Regions from separate parts of the Homo sapiens genome. Here region 2 is linked to region 1. The links are contacts of gene promoters, found by promoter capture Hi-C in human tissues and cell types (Jung and others, 2019). All regions are on one chromosome and are shown on one strand. Each heading gives the region's core, a stretch centred on a gene start or on the middle of the fragment in contact. The rest is flanking DNA. Distances are from core to core; before and after follow the strand shown. Region 1 holds the start of CIDEA (cell death inducing DFFA like effector a). Region 2 has its middle 52 kb from the start of C18orf61.

Region 1 (5,806 bases), core at 2,034-4,533:
GTCAGACTTCATAGAACGCTGTGAAACGGCATGTCTCTCAGGAACAGGTGGGAAGGGAAGGTTTTGTATTCTGCCCCGAGGGAGGCAGGGCGCCGCCAACTTCCAAAAGTGTGTGAAATACACCAACAAGCCACAGACTGACAGTAGACCTGAACTCTTCTCCAGTAAAACAAACCTGAGCCGTACAGAGAATTAAAAAGCTTTCTTTACATGCCACCTATGGAGGAAAAGGGCCCAGTATTAAGGTCTTCCTCAAAGTGAAATATTTTGGTGTCATGGGTGAGGGGGCAGCAGTACAGGCTGTGTAAAATAGTGCCTGGGAATATTCAGGGGGCAGTGATGGCTGAGGGAACTCTGCATCTCATCATTAGGAAGAAAAAGAGGCAGCCACCGTGGGAGGAAGAAGCAGTACACAGGAATTGGACAGAAGCCAACCGAGCACTGTCACCAAGAGCAGCAGGGAATGCCAAGGAGGGAAGTGTGAGGTCAAGCACAGCCACGCAGAGAAGGAAGGGAGGGCTGGGAAAGTGCTCCACAGGCCTGGAGAAGAGTCCCTGAGCTGTAGAGACAGTGTCAGAGGATGGTGGGGTCAGTGGCAGGAAGCAGGGAAGCAAGTGCTGCCTTGACGAGACTTCCTGCTGCCCGGCTCCCCTAGGGCTCTTGGACGTGACATATGCAGGTGGGAGCACACCTACCCCCCAGATAAACTCGCCCCGACAAGGACTGCCTGGTTCATGGCTCAGTTCTTCGCAAGCTACCTAAAGGCTTGACATTATCAAGTGTTCAATACATGACCATGAAGTCTTTGAACACTTTGCAGTTTCGTTAAAATAAGAATTTAAATTCAAGAAGCAGAAAGCTGAGAGATTGACTTGTAGCATACTTAATTCCTTACTAATGTCACTAAGAAGACTGGTGAAATTTGTACTGAAATAGCAGCACAAAACCTAGAGTTCCTTGTTCAAGGAAAGGAAAAATGTGCTAGATAGCTATGAAAGCAGCCATTTCACACGAAGCTTATAACATGTACCAGCTTCATAACAACTTCAGCGTTTGGCAGGAATGTTATCACTGGCAGAACACAGGAACAGAGCAGACTTTGTCTGTGATAGTCAACCTGCATGTGGACCTCCTTGATGTCTGGAGCTTTGTTGTGAGACCTCAGGCTGCTTTCCTCAGGACCAAGGCCCCTAACGATTCTAGCTGACTAACAAATGCCTGGGTTAAGGTTTCACCACTGACTACAAGTACCTGATTTTTAAAAATTTTTGTGCACATTGATTCGGTTCTTTCCTTGGTAAAATGTAGTTACTAATAAAGACAGAATTATGACATCCTGGACCTGGTTTAAATTAAGGAACCCTGAGAGGAAGCCGAAGTCCAGCAAGAGCACAATTAGCAAATATGTTAGGACCTGGCCTCTGGCTCTTTTGCCCGGACAGGGTTTTAGAGAGGGGCAGGGAAGAAAAGGTGTTTTCCCTTCAACAAGAATTACAGATTGTTTTCTTCCAGTTTAGTTTGGTAACAGGTAGATTTCACAGAATGACAGTAGTCCAGCCTGGGAGCAGGTAGATTTCACAGAATGACAGTAGTTCAGCCTGGGAGCAGGTAGATTTCACAGAATGACAGTAGTTCAGCCTGGAAGCAGGTAGATTTCAAAGAACTGCAGCAACAGCTTGTCCATAACAGGTAGAGTCATTCACTCCTGGGATGAGCCAAGCTGGAAGGAATGTGTCCTAGGAGACTCAAGGTTTCCCAATGTTTCATTTGTCAACAGCTCATAAGCAAGTCACTTCCACTTCACACGACCTCACAGAGACCCCACACAGATGCATTTTGGATTTTGGTGAGCTGTTATAATAGTCAGAGGCAGGGACAGGCTCAGCCTGAATCCTGCTCAGAGGCCAACCAGGATTGGTTAGTGCGAGTCAGCCCACACCTCCTTCCCCCATGCTCCGGAGGAACAGTGGGTGTGTTGTGAATTCACTGGAAAAGTGGTTGGAAGGACGCATTCCAAACTGCTAAGACCTCCCCTCCTGGAAGTGGGACTGTGGTGTGGATGGTTCTGGAAGAACGCAAAAGATACAGGGCCCTGACCTTTAGGCCTAAGCGTGTTAATGACCATACACGAAGCAGGTGTTTCTCAGCGTCCCCCTGCCACCGCCCCGACTTGTACTGTGGGCTTATTTTTAAAGAGAAAGATGCTTCTAACCTGCAGTGTCTACAACAGCTCCCATTTAAGAACCCGGGATTGGAAGCTCATAGATTGCGTTTCGTAGCCGGACCGCTCCCTTTCACACATGTAGTCTCTCTGCCCGCCACACGTAGCACACACAGTGGGACCCGGCGCCGCTGAACGCCTGCACCTTCAAGCCCGCAAATGGTTCTCTATCCTTTTCCAGGTACTTGATCTTCAGAGAAACACGATCTCCCTCTTAGACCTTACTTTACAGTTGCTGCCACGCAATGACTTAGGATTTTACCAAGAATTGGCTTGGGTCTGTTGGGATATGAATATTAACCCAAGCAGGAAAATAGCCAATGCTGCCTGTTCGACCACGAGCGGGTGCGAAGCGCAGGGAAGACTCCTCAGGGTCCACCCGCCCCTTGTCCCCCCTGCTCCCCAGGCAGCGTCTCCGCCCTTGGACCCGGAGGCAAGGAGGAGCGCTTCTCCCAGCACCACCAACCTGGAGGGCTCCGCCGGACGGTTGGGGCCTCCCCTCGGAGACCAGAGCCCGCGCTTCCAGGAGGGGCCAAGCCTGGGCCCCTCCCGCGCCCAGCTCCCGTTGTGATTTCCAGGACCCCCAGAAGCCCGGTCCCCTCGCATCGCGGAAGCTTTGCTCGGGGTTCCTGGGACCGGACCCTCTTCTGCGCCCGCGACTGCAGCAGCGGCCAGAGATGCATGCAGCCACTCGCCAGCTGTCACCTGGTTTGCAGACGCCCGCGCACCTCGCAAGAGCCACACCTGGTACCTGTGCCCAGCTGCAAGAGGGTGAGGAGGCGCGGGACGGGATTGGGCTCTGCCCGCGGGCGCGGCTGGACGGCTTGGGCACCAGTGGGGCGGATGGGTGTGTGCGCGGGGTCGCGGAGCGCAAGAGAATGCGGGGAGCAGGGGGCTGAAGGGAGCGGGGTACGGTACTAGAGGCGCACAGGGGAATATGAGGCCACCGAACGCAAGGCGATTGGAAGCGCACGGCAATCAGGGGGACGCGGGGCACTCGCCTGATGAGGGCTCCTGCATAGTCCCGGGCGGCCTCCATGGCGCGGATCCCCTAGCGGGCCTGGAGGTCTGTCTGCCTGCACAGCCTCTTAAAGTGCGGCGGCCCCGCCCCCGCCCGCCTGCCAGCCCCGCGAAGGCCTGACTGGCGCAGGGGAGGACGTTTTGGCACGAGCTCTCCACCGCCGAGGATCGCGACTTCGCGCTCTGGGAGCCCCCGGTCGTCCTGGCTCCCGCAGCCTGGAGCCGCGCGTCCTTCGCTGCCTTGGGCCGTACCGAGGACCTTGGAAGCCCAGATGCTCCCCGGGTCTCTTTTGGTCACTTGCCAGCCTGTTCGTTTTGCACTTCTGGGGGTCGGGGCAGTTGGGGTCATAACCAATCCTGGCAGCATCACTTTGGCCGCGGAAAGACGGGTATGTGGATTTTAAACCCAGGCCACGGGTGGGGCAGGTGAGGAGACGGATGTGAGCGCCACTTGCCTCCAGCTCTGGAGTCCCCCAGAGCCCAGCCCCAGGCTCAGCGAGCCGCTGGTTCCCTGCAGGGATGCGGAAGCTGCCGCAGACACCGGGACCTGCAGCCCTTCAGGTTCTCCGAGGCGCCTGGGCTTCCTGCCCGCTGCGCTGCTCTCAAGGCCATGTCATGAGCATTTGGGGACAGTGAGAAGGGCATGCAGAACGGGAGGGGAAAGGAGCCTTTGGACTGCATGAATTGCCTTTTAGCTGTAGTAAGGGACCCTCGCAGAGTGAGGAGGCAAAGAGTGAACCCCGCTGGGGCTGGGGGACTTCCGTCCACACCCTGCTCTCATGGTTGTTCCCATCGGAAGACGCAATTAGGGCCTCTGAGACCTCCGAGGAAGGCGGGCAGTTACAAGGGGTTCCCAGAACCCCTCACTACAGGACTGAAGAGGTGGGCTCAGTGTTGAGGGGTGGGACTCGGGCAGTAAGAGGTGTAACTTTCTGGGATGGAGGCTTGCTAGGATATCCTCTCGTGCCCAACTGCTGACTGCCGCCTGGAAACAGCGTTTCGGGAGCTGCAGCGGGACCCTCGCCGGCTCCTCCTGAGCCCACCTGGTTTGAGCAGACTGACCTGATCTCTTAAGACCTGACCCTATGCCCGCCCTCTTCCTCCGCTGGCTCTCAGAAAGGGTCACCGTGGTCAACAAGCCTTGTGACTTGCAGGACTGTTGAAGCCAAAGGCAATTGCCTTCCAGAGTCAAGGACTCCGCCTGCTGGGAACACCCAGCTCCAGGCTCACAGGGGGCAGCTTCCCCCAGAGGCACTGAGCGGACACAGCTTTAGGAGGTCATTCACTGCCCCTCCCACTCACAGCCCCAATGTGATGGATGAGAAAATGGGTCCAATCAATTCAGGTCAACTTACCTCTAACCTTTTTATTGTGAAAAAGTTCAAATATAGAGATACATAGAAAGAACAGGGCTGAGGGTACTGGCTTACATCTGTAATCCCAGTACTTTGGGAGGCCAAAACAGGAGGATGGCTTGAAGCCAGGAATTTGAGACCAGCCTGGGTAACACTGTGAGACTACTATCTCTACACAAAAATAACGATAATTAGCCAAGCATGACGGCGAGCACCTGTAGTGCTAGCTACTCAGGAGGCTGAGGAGGGAGGATCACCTGAGCCCAGGAGTTTGAGGTTGCAGTGAGCTGTGATCATGTCACTGCACTCCAATATGGGCAACAGAGTGAGACTTTCTCTCTAAAGAAAGAAAAAAATCTGTTTGTGTGTATATATCTATCTATCTATATATAAGATAGATAGATAGATAGATAGATAGATAGATAGATAGATAGATAAGAGAGAACAGTACAATGAGCACACTTACACCCAGCCCCTGGATTCAACCACTGTTAACATTTTGACATATTTCTTTGTTCTTTATATTTGAATTTGAACCCTTCCAAATTAAATCCTTTAGCTTGCATCTCTGGAGAAACAAGGACATGATCTCATACATAACCATAGTGACATTATCACTTCTAACAAAATAAAAATAAAGACCTGGGCACTGAGTGTGGACATGGGGGTGGGGTGGGGACTAGCAAACATTTCCAGGCCATGGCGATGGCAGAAGGGACCCAGCAGGAGATCACCCTGGGGTTTTGAGCTTGGGAGACTGGAGAGATGAGGAATCCTGGACGGGAGCAAGTCTGTGGTGGAAGCGGAGATGGTGGTGAGACCAGGCCCTGGGGACCCCTTGGTCACGGAGGCAGCATAGCCCTGGTGTGCATTGGTTCTCATGCAGATCTTCAGGCTGGGAGTAAAAGTCGGTCACTGCCCTGCTGCTGAGTGGGAATCCTGGAGTGCTGCGCTAGGAGGGTGGTGGGGAGAGGTGGGAGAGGGCAGAGGGCAGACTGAGCTCCAGGGGACTTGGCTGCAAACCCAACAGATGATGGAGAAGACAACAGTGCGAGTCATGCCCAGCCTTCCAGCATATTCTCGTCTCCAGCACACAAATTCATTCCACTCTCACTCGACAGGTTTCATTCATCCATGTTCAACAACTACTCTGTGCCCGGGCAACCAGGATTGGGAACCCAGCTTTTTAGTTCAATTCACCAAATGTTTG
Region 2 (5,806 bases), core at 1,053-3,552, 100 kb after region 1:
TTGTCTCTCTTCTCTATTAGTCTAGCTAGTGGTCTATCTATCTTATTAAATTTTTCAAAAAATCAACCCCTGGATTTGTTGAACTTTTGGATAATTTTCTGAGTCTCAATTTCCTTCTTCAGTTAAGCTCTGACGTTGGTTATTTCTTGTCTTCTGCGAGCTGTGAGGTTGATTTATTCTTGCTTCTCTAATTATTTCAATTGTGATGTTAGGTCGTTAATTTGATATCTTTCTAACACTAATTTTTATTGTGTTGTGGTTCAAGAGTATGTTTAGTATGATTTCAGTTCTTTTCATTAGCTAAGGATTGTTTTATATCCAATTATGGGGTTGATTTCAGAGCATGTGGCATGTGGTGATGAGAGAATGCATATTCTGTTGTTTTCAGGGACAGAATTACGTAGAGGTCTATCAGACCCACTTGGTCCAGTGTTGACTTCAGGTCCCATATACCTTTGTTAATTTTCTCCCTCAGTGATCTAACGTCAATGGAGCGTTAAAGTCTCCCACTATTATTTTGAGGGAGTCTATGTCTCTTTGTAGATCTCTAAGAACTCGCTTTATGAACCTAGGTGCTCATGTGCTGGATGCATACATATTCAGAATAGTTAGGTCTTCTTGTTGAATTCAACACTTTACCATTATTTAATGCCCTTCTTTGTCTTTTTTGATCTTTGTTGGTTTGAAATCTGTTTTGTCTGAAATTAGGATCGCAAGCCCTGCTTTTTTCTGTTTTCCATTTGCTTGGTAGATTTTCCTCCATCCCTTTATTTTGAGCCTATGGGTGTCATTATGTGTTAGACACGTTTCTTGAAGACAGCATATGATTGGTTCTTGTTTTATATGCACCTTGCCACACGGTGCCTTTTTAGTGAAGGGTATTTCACCCATTTACATATAAAGTTAGTGTTGATATTTGTGGATTTGATTCTGATGTTGTGTTGTTAGCCAACTGTTATGCTGGCTTGCTTTATAGTGTCAGTGGTCTGTGTATTTAAGTGCATTTTTGTACTAGCTGGTGGTGGTCTTTCTATATTTAGTGCTCCTTTCAAGATCTCTTGTAAGGCAGGTCTGGTGATAACAAACTCCCTCAACTTTTGCTTGTCTGAATAGGATCTTATTTCTCCTTCACTGAGGAAGTTTACTTTGGCTGGATATGAAATTCTTGGTTAAAGGATTTTTTTCTTTAAGAATGTCAAATATAGGCCCCCAATCTCTTCTGGCTTGCAGGGTTTCAGCTAAGATGTCTACTGTTAGCCTGATGGGGTTCCCTTTGTAGGTGACCTGCCCTTTCCCTCTTGCTGCCTTTAACATTCTTTCTTTCATTTGGACCTTGGAAAATCTGATGATTATATGTCTTGGGGATGGTATTCGTGTGTAAAATCTTGCAGGAGTTCTCTGTATTTCCTGAATTTGTTTGATTCTCTAGCAAGTTTGGGGAAGTTGTCATAGACAATATACTGAAATAGGTTTTCCAAGTTGTTGGCTTTCTCTCTGTCCCTTTCAGGGATGCCAATGATAAATAGACTTGGCCTCTTTATATAGTCCCATACTTTTCAGAGGTTTTGTTCATGTCTTTTGGTTGTTTTTATAATTTTTTGTCTGACTGTCTCATTTCAGAGAGCCAGTCTTCAAGCTCTGAAATTCTTTTCTCAGCTAGATTTATTCTCCTGTTAATACTTGCAATTGCATTGTGAAATTCTTGTATTGTGTTACTCAACTCCGTCAGGCCTCTTAGTGGTGGTGGTGTTTTTTTTTCCTATGGTGGCTATTTCATCCTTCAGCTCCTGTATTATTCTATTGTGATTCTCGGTTTCCTTGCATTAGGTATTGCCATCTTCCTGAATCTCAACGGTCCTCATTCCTGCCCATAGTCTGAATTCTATTTCTATCATGTCAGCCAGCTCTGTCTGGTTAAGAACTCTTCTTGGAGAACTGTTGTGGTCCTTAGGAGGACGTATGGCACTCTGGCCATTTGAGTTACCAGAGTTCTCGCGTTGGTTCTTTCTCATCTCTGCATGTGGGTGTTCCTTTAACTTCAGTGCAGACTCAGTACAGTCAATAGACTTCTTTTCTGGATGTTTTCACAGAACTGACACTTTATTCGGGTCTTGATTTGAAGCTGACTTCTTGTCTTTGGTTTCAGATGGGAGTATGTTAGCAAGGTACTTTTGGTGTTGAGGTTCTAGGGTGTGATCCAGTAGGTGGCGCTTAGGAATATTGGTCAGTTGGTAAACTCTTGCTCGTTTGTGTGGCTCCTCTATGTTGAACCACACTTGCAGCCCTGTTCCTTCCCAGTACTCTGAAAGTATGGGTTCCTCTCCCCCTTGAGTGCTGGCTGTAGATTGTGGCTTGGCACTCCTGGGCTGCCCACTGCAGCTCGGGGGCGATCTCAGTGTTTATGTTCCTTCCCCAACTTGGAGGCACAGAGAAAGGGACCTTAGTAGTGGCTGTGGCCAAGGGTCTTTCGCGTGTCTCCTGGGGGCTCCACCCATAGAGATGCAGGTCAGCATTCACTCAGTGCAATCAGCCCAGGTTGGAGTGTCTGTGCTGTGGGCCCAAGCCGGGGGTTCCCTGTCTGGTAGTGAGCAGAGGGGAGCATGTGGGGCCCATGGGAGATGGACTGGCCTCCTCTCCTTGGGTCAACTGCAGCTCGTTGGAGGTGTGGATCAAGGACATAGGGTCTTTGCTCCTTCACTAGTCCAAGGGTAGCAAGGGCAGTTCCACTGCAGAGGCAGTGGCAGAGAGGCTTTCAGTTGCCCCTGGAGGCTGTGTCAATGGAGTTGCCGAGCTGCCACTGGCTCCATAGGTCTGGCGAGGGGTGGCTAGAGGACCTGCCAGGTGAGGAGTTTCGGGAATGGGCACCCATGTAACAGTGTGGCCACTTTCTGTAGGGCTGCTGCAGTATGCTGAGGGCCTGCTCCAGTCCCTAGTCACCTTGGATTTTTCAGCACCTGGAGGTATGAAGGTTGCAAAACAGCAAAGATGGTGGCCTGCCCCTCCCACTGGAAGCCCTGTCCCAGGGAGGTATGGAGCTGTTGACGGCCTGAATGCATCTGTAGGAGGTAGCTGGAGAGACCTCGGTTGACAGGTCCCGCTGAGTGAGGAGAAGCCTCACTCAGAAAAGTATTGGGGCCACTTTTCTTTTTTCCTTTTTTTTTTGAGAGAGTCTCACTCTGCCACCCAGGCTGGAGTGTAGTGGCACAATCTGGGCTCACTGCAACCTCTGCCTGCTAGGTTCAAGCAATTCTCCTGCCTCAGCCTCCCGAGTAGCTGGGACTACAGGTGCACGCCACCACGCCTGGCTAACTTTTTGTACTTTTAGTCAAGAGGCCGTGTCACCATGCTGGCCAGGCTGATCTCCAACTGCTGACCTCATGATCTGCCCACCTCAGCCTCCCAAAGTGCTGGGATTACCGGCGTAAGCAATTGTGCCTGTTTTTAGAAAACAGCACTACGTTTTTTTGAAAAACCAGTCTGTGCATCGTTCTGTTGAGCAGCTGTGTTGTGCTGTGCTGTGCTGTGCTGTGCTGTGCTGTGCTGTGCTGTGCTGGGGGTCTGCTTCCGTCCCCGATCTCCTCGTTCACTTCTGAGCCCGAAGGCTGGAAGGGCTAAGTTGCCCAAATAGAAGAGATGGTGGCCTACCGCACTCCCTGGGAGCTCCATCTCAAGGAGATTTGGGACGTCTGTCAGCCAGAGAACACTGGCAAGGGTGGCTGGACACCCCAGTTGAAAGCTCCCACCCAGTGAAGAGGAACGGGATCAGGGACCCACTTGAAAAAGCAGTCTGGCCACGTTTTCGTAGAGCAGCCCCCAGTTGGCCCTTTTAAGCGGGTCCCTGATCCCGGTGTTTTCCACCTGACAGAGATCTGAAACCTCCCCAGGATGAACCTCCAAGAAGGAGAGGCAGGCCGCCATCTTTGCTGTTGGGGCAACTTAGCCATTGCATCCTGCAGGCTTTAGAGGGTTCAAGCCGATCGGGGGTGGCAGTGCCAGCCTAGCCCAGCCACACGCCATCCTCACTGAGCGGGACCTCCCGACTGGAGTCTCCAGGCACTCTTGCCAGTGCTCTCCAGCTGACAGAGGTTTGAGGCCTCCCTGCGACAGAGCTCCTAAGGGGAGGGGCAACCTGCCATCTTTGCAGTTTTGGTGGCTGGGCGGATCCAGCTTTCTGGCTTGGAAGTGAACCCCGTGACCAGGAATGGGAGCGTACCCCCAGCACAGCACAGCTGCTCGATGAAAAGATGGCCAGACTGCCTACTTTTTTTTTAAGCATTGAGAGATGGACTGGCCTCCTCTTTCTGGGTCAACTGCAGCCTGCTGGAGGTGTGGATAAGGCAGGTAGGGTCTTTGCTGCTTCATTAGTCCAAAGGTAGCAAGGGTAGTTCCACTGTAGAGGCAGTGGCAGAGAGGCTTTCAGTTGCTCCTGGAGGCTCTGTTCAGGGCATTGCAGGGCTGCTACTGGCTTGGCATCTCTGGTGGGAGATTGCTGGAAGCCCAGGCCCAGAGGACCAGCCCCCTGAAAAGATACGGTAATGGGCATCCACGTGACACTCTGGAGACTTTCCTGTAGGGCTGCTGCAGTATGCTGGGGGCCCAATCCTGTCCCTAGCCAGCTCGGATCTTCCAGTATCTAGAGGTAACACGAGTGAAGGCTGTGAAACAGCAAAGATGGCGGCCTGCCCCTCCCTCCAAGAGGTCTGTCCCTGAGAGGTATGGACCTGTTGGTGGCCCAAACACACCTGTAGGAGGTGGCTGGAGACCACAGTTGGGAGGCCCTGCCCAGTGAGGAGGAACAAGATCGGGGCCCCCTTTAAAAAGCAGTCTGGCCTCGTTTTTGTAGACCAGCTGCGCTGTGCTAAGGGTCCGCGCTTCAGCCCCCAGTCACCTAGAACACTCCAAAGCCCACAAGCTGGAATGGCTAAGCCACCCAAATGGCAAAGGTAGCAGCCTGCCTCTGCCTCTGAGAGCTTCATCCCAGGGAGGTTGGAAACCTCTGTTGGCTGGCAGACACTGGCAGGGGTAGTTGAAGACCCCTGCCAGGAAGTCTCACACATTAAGGAGGAACAGGATCGGCAGCCCACTTTAAAAAAGCAGTCTGGGCTGGGCACGGTGGCTCACCCCTGTAATCCCACCACTTTGGGAGGCCGAGGAGGGCGGATCGTTTGAGATCAGGAGTTCGAGGCCAGCTGGGCAACATGGTGAGAACCCGTCTCTACTAAAACTCCAAAAATTAGCTGGGCATGCTGGCCTATGCCTGTAGTCCCAGCTGCTCGGAAGGCTGAGGCTGGAGAATTGCTTGAACCCAGGAGGCGGAGGTTGCGGTGAGCCGAGATTGTGCCACTGCACTCCAGCCTGGGAAACAGAAGGAGATTCTATCTCAAAACACACACACGCCCCCCCAAAAAAGTCTGGCCCCATTTTCATAAAGCAAGTGTGCTGTGCTGGGGGTCTCTTCCAGCCTCCAGATGCCTCTGACTCTCCAAAGACTGAAGGCCGAAATGGCTAAGTCATCCCAACAGCAAAGATGGCGGCCTGATCCTCCTCCTGGAAAGTCCCACAGAGTGAGGTTTAAGATGTCTGCCGGCCAAGGAATACCAGTGGAAGTGGCTGGAGACCCCGGTTGGGAGGTCCCACAAAGTCAGGAGAAACAGGATCCAGGACACTCTTAAGAAAGAAGCCTGGCCATGTTTTCATAGAACAGCCGTGCTGCGCTGTGCTGTGCTGTGCTGTGCTACCACTTCTACCGCAGGTTGGCCTGCAGTCTCTGAAGGCCGAAGGCTGGAATGGCTAAGTCGCCCAAATG

The links. The method cuts DNA at HindIII sites, captures the fragments that hold promoters and counts their contacts. A contact is called where the count stands out against the background at its distance.
Region 2: a contact is called between a fragment that was not itself captured here and the fragment with the promoter of CIDEA in region 1, in 4 of the 25 tissues and cell types used here (H1 embryonic stem cells, heart left ventricle, mesendoderm cells and 1 more).

Annotation. Positions count from the first base shown.
Region 1 is chr18:12,251,838-12,257,643 of GRCh38, reverse strand. CIDEA (cell death inducing DFFA like effector a) reads right to left here and starts at 3,283. Exons shown (of 5, transcript NM_001279.4): 1 at 3,223-3,283. The coding sequence starts at 3,260. It overlaps LOC105371996 (a long non-coding RNA gene), which reads right to left and starts at 2,631. Exons shown (of 2, transcript XR_935158.3): 1 at 2,213-2,631; 2 at 188-2,065. RefSeq lists an enhancer at 3,541-4,147. The HindIII fragment of the contact is 10,266 bases long and covers 1,927-5,806 here.
Region 2 is chr18:12,146,040-12,151,845 of GRCh38, reverse strand. It overlaps a transcript of ANKRD62 not described here. Among named protein-coding and RNA genes, the nearest start is that of C18orf61, 52 kb to the left of the region's middle. The HindIII fragment of the contact is 9,377 bases long and covers 1-5,806 here.